Regions from separate parts of the Homo sapiens genome. Here region 1 is linked to region 2. The links are contacts of gene promoters, found by promoter capture Hi-C in human tissues and cell types (Jung and others, 2019). All regions are on one chromosome and are shown on one strand. Each heading gives the region's core, a stretch centred on a gene start or on the middle of the fragment in contact. The rest is flanking DNA. Distances are from core to core; before and after follow the strand shown. Region 1 overlaps TNPO3 (transportin 3). Region 2 holds the start of IRF5 (interferon regulatory factor 5).

The links. The method cuts DNA at HindIII sites, captures the fragments that hold promoters and counts their contacts. A contact is called where the count stands out against the background at its distance.
Region 1: a contact is called between a fragment that was not itself captured here and the fragment with the promoter of IRF5 in region 2, in 4 of the 25 tissues and cell types used here (IMR-90 fibroblasts, lymphoblastoid cells, mesenchymal stem cells and 1 more).

The regions. Positions count from the first base shown.
Region 1 is chr7:128,975,522-128,978,629 of GRCh38, forward strand. TNPO3 (transportin 3) reads right to left here. Exons shown (of 23, transcript NM_012470.4): 17 at 298-414. Among named protein-coding and RNA genes, the nearest start is that of IRF5, 39 kb to the left of the region's middle. The HindIII fragment of the contact is 5,983 bases long and covers 1-3,108 here.
Region 2 is chr7:128,936,223-128,939,770 of GRCh38, forward strand. It overlaps IRF5 (interferon regulatory factor 5), which reads left to right and starts at 1,705. Exons shown (of 9, transcript NM_001098629.3): 1 at 1,705-1,827. RefSeq lists enhancers at 33-327, 1,995-2,578, 2,612-2,681 and a silencer at 1,572-2,331. The HindIII fragment of the contact is 4,364 bases long and covers 1-1,883 here.

The DNA.
Region 1 (3,108 bases), core at 99-2,598, 39 kb after region 2:
GCTTAGAGATTCATTTTTCTCACCTCCTCCCCCCTCCAAACACCCTATCTCTGGAAGAGCATAAACCAGGCAGTAACATGTAATAATCATTACACTCATGTGGTCAGTCTCTCATTCTCTCAAACAGGCCTGTTCAGAGAACAACTGGGAAGCTTCCACCTCCCTGTTATTAGGAAATCAACATGCCTGGGGGAAAACATAAAGAAGCAACAGAATTAAAGACATGGTAAAGAATACGCTGCTAGGCCTTCAGACCCTCTAGGCCTGATGCGTCTACACTCCTCATGGAAAAGATACCTGGAGCATGTCTAGCAGTCCCTGCCGACAGCCTTCTTCCATGCCATATTCATCCACAAGGATACTGCCAAGGTACAGGAAGCAGGAATGCTGATGTACGTGGTACACATTCACCATCTGTTGAGGGAAAAAACAATTAGTTCAATGCTTCGTCCTTCAAAAAGTACCAACTTACGAAGCTGTCTCCAGGAAGAAATTCAGAGATAGATTGGCTTCTTCTCTTTAAGGCAACATAGTATAAAGCTTCTTAGCACTATTTTGTGAAACACAGGGCTCAATATCTCAATGATTTTCAGGTTCTCTATTCTTCCAACCCTTTGACCTTTCATCTTCCCAAGACAATGCTGTATAAGAGTTAAAGCTAGAAGCTATCAGGGAACTCATGGATTATTTGCAAAACCCCAGCACAGAATATTTCATCCAGTACGTAAAAGTTGCTCTCATTTGCACTGTAGATAAGTCATACTTTTAAATAGGATATATAGCCACAGTTGGGAAAACAGTATCAAACACCTTCATCTTGGAGAAGACAGTGAAAGCATTGTTTAAATTTTGAGTTGCTCCTAAACCTATTTTATCTTTTAAGTAAAAAATAGTGTTTTCTACGAAGATATTTGGATTTCAACACAGCAAAAATTTTAACACAATATGCACATTATTATTTTTTTTTTAAGAGACTGGGTTTCGCTCTGTTGCCCAGGCTGGAGTGCAGTGGTGAGATCTTGGCTCACTGTGGCCTCAACCTACCAGGCTCAAGGGATCCTCCCACCTCAGCCTCCCGAGCAGCTGGGACTATAGGTGTGCACCACCATGCCCGGCCACGATATGCGCTTAAATGATTTGTTTAGAATTTTTACTCCACTATCCTCCCAGAATTAAGAAACAATTGTACACTCACCTATTTAAAATGCCACCACAGTACATATGTATTGATCTTATTACATAAATTCAACTCTATGAACTTGGGACTGAAAGGATACAGTAACTTAATTCTTCTGTTGGCATATGCCATGGAATGAGCATGAGATGGGAGCTATGAATCCATTCCATGTTGTAAACTCAAAATTATATGCTCTACTAAGGAATGATTAAGTCAAGGGTTGCCAAACATTTTCTTAAAGGGCTACTTTGTAAAAAGTATAGATCTTATCCACCATTCAGTCTTCTGCCCACTCAAGTTTGCCAGTGTAGCACAAAAATGACCAATAGATAATACGTAAATGAATTATGGCTATAGCTCAGTAAAACATTAAAAAAAACACAAAAACAAAAATAGGTGGCAAGGCCACTGACTATCAATTGCTGGCTCCTGAGTTAAGGGATTTTTTAAGGATAATTTTCATTTTTGTCACATGTACTGACTCTAGAACACACTTCCTATATAATAGTGCTACCTACTCTATTGGGTTAGTCATATACTTAACTGGCAGGAATTAAAAAACAGTATCAAAGTCATGAGGGTATCCTCCAACAGCAAAGGGGCAGTCTATCAAGTTGTAGTAGACCCAGAATGTATTGCACTGAAGGGGACACTTGACCAGAGGTGGCAATCGCCTAAATGCGAACATACATTATTGTGCTCAGCATATAGTGAAAGTAGAGAAATCACTAAAAATTAAAATTCTGTTGAAATATTTACCTGTACAATCTTTAATCAAATCTATAATTTAGAGAGGCAAGGTTATCCAAGTACCAACACCGCACCAGCATGCCTGTGCCTGTGGTTGAGGGCACCTATGATGCAGAATTTAAGGGGGAACTCATTCTTTTTTTCTTTTTTCTTTTTTTTTTTTTTTGAGATGGAGTTTCACTCTGTCACCCAGGCTGGAGTGCAGTGGCACGATCTCAGCTCACTGCAACCTCCACCCTCCGGGTTCAAATGATTCTCCTTCCTCAGCCTCATGAATAGCTGGGACTACAGGCGCCTGCCACTGCGCCTGGCTAATTTTTTGTATTTTTAGTAGAGATGGGGTTTCACCATCTTGGCCAGGCTGGTCTTGAACTCCTGACCTCGTGATCCACCCACCTCGGCCTCCCAAAGTGCTGGGATTACAGGCGTGAGGCACTGCACCTGGCCAGGGGGAACTCATTCTTAAGGCCAGGACCTCCTTAAAATCTGCACCCTAGGTGCTCTCCTCTCCCTAGGTGGAGCATGGTCACTTCAGGTTGGGTGGGGTATGACTCTAGCCTGGAGCTCTGTGACTGTTTTCCTCACAGCATGGGTACAAAATTTCAGAAAGCACCTCAGAGTCCTGCAAATGCAGGATTGGCACTTTGCCTTGTGTCCCTAAATCTTGTGCCCTAGGCACTGGCATCCTGGCCCTGCTCTAAGGTTAACATCAACACAATTACTTAGTGACTTAAGCATAGGCATCTCATACAGTTCTAGATGAGAATATGATTTTAGAGAACATCATTTAGTGAGTCATACCATCATAATTACATATCAATCTTAATGACTAAAAGAGTCAAATTTATTTTTTGACAAGAGACTTCTGTGGACAACTAACTGTGGCCAAGATTGAAGAAAATCCCTTTGGGCAAAGAAACAGCAAAGTCTGACTTGCTACATTTTTTCCCCAAGGATCTCAATATAAAAATGCTTACCATTAGTATATAAGTACTGAGCCCAAGTCATTCGCTTCACAGAATTTCACAATGGACTGTGTTGCTACTTAGAATACTGCTATAGCTACTATACAGAAGCGATTTTAGGCTGTTTCCCTTATAGACAATGTACCTATCACAGGCACTAATCTCTTTCAAGTGTTTTTTTAGTTTGTTAATAAATACAAAAGTGTTTCATTTCAT
Region 2 (3,548 bases), core at 455-2,954:
AATAATGAAATACTCAGCAGATACAAATAATAAAATACTTATATATAATGATATTTCGACTTCATATTAGGGCTTCAAAGGTCAGGAAAGAGGGAGAGATACAGAAGAGAAAAAAAAAAAACGTTAACACATGAGTGTCTTTTTTTAACTTGTTAAAGGTAAAGTTCAACCCAGGAGAAGGGAGGGGAGGGAAGGTCAAAGTTCTGATTCATCAACAAATACTACTTTATTTGTTAAAAATACAAGGCTCTGCTTGGCGCAGTGGCTCCCGCCTGTAATCCCAGCACTTTGGGAGGCCAAGGCGGGTGGATCGCCTGAGGTCAGGAGCTCGAGACCAGCCTGGCCAACATGGTGAAACCCCGTCTCTACTTGGGAGGCTGAGGCAGGAGAATCGCTTGAACTGGGGAGGCAGAGGTTGCAGTGAGCTGAGATCGCACTGCTGCACTCCAGCCCGGGTGACAGAGCAAGACTCCATATCAAAAAATAAAATAAAATAAAATGAACAATGAAAAGACAGGAGGGAGGTTCCTGAGTAAGCTGATTCGAGTGGAAATCAGACATCAAAATTGAAACCCGCTGAATTTTCCAAAAAGCCAGATGCTCATAGAACTGAAGCTTGAGACACTTACATCAGTACACCTGCTGCCTGTTGACCAATTCCTCTTCCTTGTCCCTCCTGTTTTCCTTCCCTGCTATATAAGCCCCTAACTTTAGTCAAGGGGAGGGATGGATTGGAGGTTTGTCTCCCCTCTCAACAGCTCACTGGCTGATGTCACCGGAATAAAGTCTTCCCTGGCAATACTCGCTGTCTCAGTGATAGGCTTTCTGTGCGGTGAGCAGCCAGACCTGGACCAAACCCCTGGCAATCCATAACAAAATCATAAGCAAAATCAACCAGGAAGCTATTTGCACCCTGGAACCCCACCTGGGAGGGGAAGTCAAGGCAGACTTTCCAGAGAAGGCGATGCTGAAAATTTCAGAAACAGAAATTTTGAAGAGCAAGAGTTACCAAGCGAAGAACATTCCATGAGAAGGAACAGGAGGTGTGTGAAGGTGGAGGTTCTGGGGTGAGGTTCTTTATGGAATCGAAAACGGTTCAGAACCACAGGTCGACGGTCAAGGTAGTAGTGAGAGGAGGTGGGACAGGCGACCACGCCGCTGCCCCTGGGATGACTGGAAGGCGACTTAGGGGAGCTGGGGCGAGACAGGTGCAGGGTTTGAGGATGAGAAAGGCACAGAGTGACTAGAGGATTCCCGCCTGCAAGCACATCTGGAAGGGGTGTCTGGATCCTGGGGGCAGCGACTGTGTTCTAGGGCGAGAGCCACCCTCGCCAGGGGTGTAGGCAGGCGAGAGGAGGGCCTGGAGCTGTGGGTCGGCCACACTGCGCCCTCATTTGTGTGCAGCCCCGGAGGACCAGAGTGGGGAAGCACCCCACCCTCTCCCAGGGCCCAACTGAGCACTGCAGCGGGAGGTACGGGGTTGTCAAATGACAGTTTTGCCATTCCAGATTGCCAAAAGAGCCAGTGGCCAGTCTAGGGCACCGCGCCGTCTGGCATCTCCCTGGAGGCCCTGGGCCTGGCCCGAGGCTCAGCCCGGATCTGCAGTTGCCAGGTCAGTGCGGGGCCCGGAGTGGATTCGCGGGGCGGGGCGGGGCACTGCCCGCGCCCGGAGCTCAGCAGCAGCTGCCCAGGGGCGGGGGCGGCAAGACGCGGAAGTGCCCGGCAGGTTGGCGGACCGGCGGGAGGCGCAGCCTGGGCAGAGCTCAGCTTGGTCCCGCCGCCCGGCCGGTGCTCCCTGGCGCAGCCACGCAGGCGCACCGCAGACAGGTGGGTCCCGGCCGCCGCGCTCTCCTCTCTGCGTCCGCGCCCGGCGCGCCCCGAGGGTGGCGGGAGCGGTGCCGGCTACTGCCCCCAAGTCTAGGCCTAGACTGGGCCCCGCGCCCCCCAGGCACCTGCGGGCGGCGGGATGAAGACTGGAGTAGGGCGGGGTCCGCGTCCAGCTGCGCCTGGAAAGCGAGCTCGGGTGGGTGCCTACAGCAGGGTGCGCCCGGCCGGCCTGGGACTTCCAAAGCGCCTCCCACGCCCCGATCGGTTTGGGGTGCTGGCGCCCGGGGAGCCCAGTGACCCAGGCGGCGGAGTGGGCAGCGCTGCGGGGGGCGCCGGCTCTGCTGCTCTCCCTCCCCCTCGCCATCGCCCAGAATGGGGGTTCCCGGGAGCCCCGCTGGAGGCTGGCTTGGACCACAGAGGAGCGAGGCCCGATCCTTACTTTCGATGCACTCGCCCTTGCTCTTACCGGGCCACCCTCACCCTTTCGGAAAAGAGGTTGAGGTTAAAGCGTTCATCCCCCGGGATCTTCAGGCCAATGGCAGGAACTGTGCAAGAGTTTGGGGGAAGATGGTGTCAGGTAGAGGCTGCGTCCCTGGGCTCGCGGCCGGGAATGGCAGACTCTCGTCCCCCGAGCAGCGGAAAAGGATGGGGCGCAATAGTTCCTGGGCTGGTTTCCTCAGGTCCTGTCCCAGAACTTAAGAAGGCAACAATGAAGAGGCTAAACGTGGAGGAAAAGTGAGGCTAGCATGGCCGGGATGCGTGGGGAGATGGTTGTCTCCGGACCCCGGGAGGGGCGGGAGCGGGTACCTGGGAGCAGAGGCTGGAGTGGGGGACTTTCCCAGCCTCGCGGCCACGCTGAACACAGCAGGGCGAGGACCGGGGTGCTGCTCCTCCAGCAGCAGGAGGAGAGGTCCAGAGGCCGACTCTGGAGGTGGGGGTGGCTCCGCGGGCTGGCCCAGGGGGTGTGCCCCAGCGGAGCACGCGGGAGGGGTGGGGGCGGAGGGGAGGGGGGAGCAGGGGCGGAGGACTGGGCTGGGCCTGGGCTCCTCGAGGGCCCAGAATGGGGATAAGTGACCAGAACCAGAGAGGGCTCGGCTGTATCGATGTAGGAAACTGTAGCCCCTCAGGAGGCCCTCTGGCAAGACCTCCCCTTCCTGCCCCCACCCCCAGTAGTTATGGGGCCTGGGGTGCTGGGGCTGAGGGGTTCCAAGAGTCAAGGGAAGCACTGGGAAATCACCCCTTTTTATCTAAAGGCCCTACTTTGGGGTTTTTCCCCTGTACCCTGGTCTTCCCCTACCCTGACCCTGGGAGGAAGCTGAAAGAAGCTTCTTTCTGGGCACCTTTTGCCCCAGAGCCTCAGCCTGTCTGGACCAGGTGGGCAGCAGGGCCCAGGGTGTGGGCAGCTGACCCGGAGGGGTGGGATTTGGGGGTCAGGGCCTGTACAGGGAACCCCTTGTCCTCTCCCTGAGCTGGGTGTGGGTTTGCAAGGAGACATGTGACCCAGACCAACCCTGGGAGCAGCAGGGCGCCTGCTGTCTGGCCACTCTTACTAGGACTGCTGTGGCACTTCCTCCCCTAGTGGGTCCCTGGTGCCCATGAATTGCAGCTCCTGGGTGGTGGTGGGGGCACTGTCTCCTGGGACTCCAGCATGGCCCTGGGGTGAGCTGTGGGCTTACCCCACCTCAGCAGGTCCTCTAGGGCTGCCCACTGGATGCTTCGCT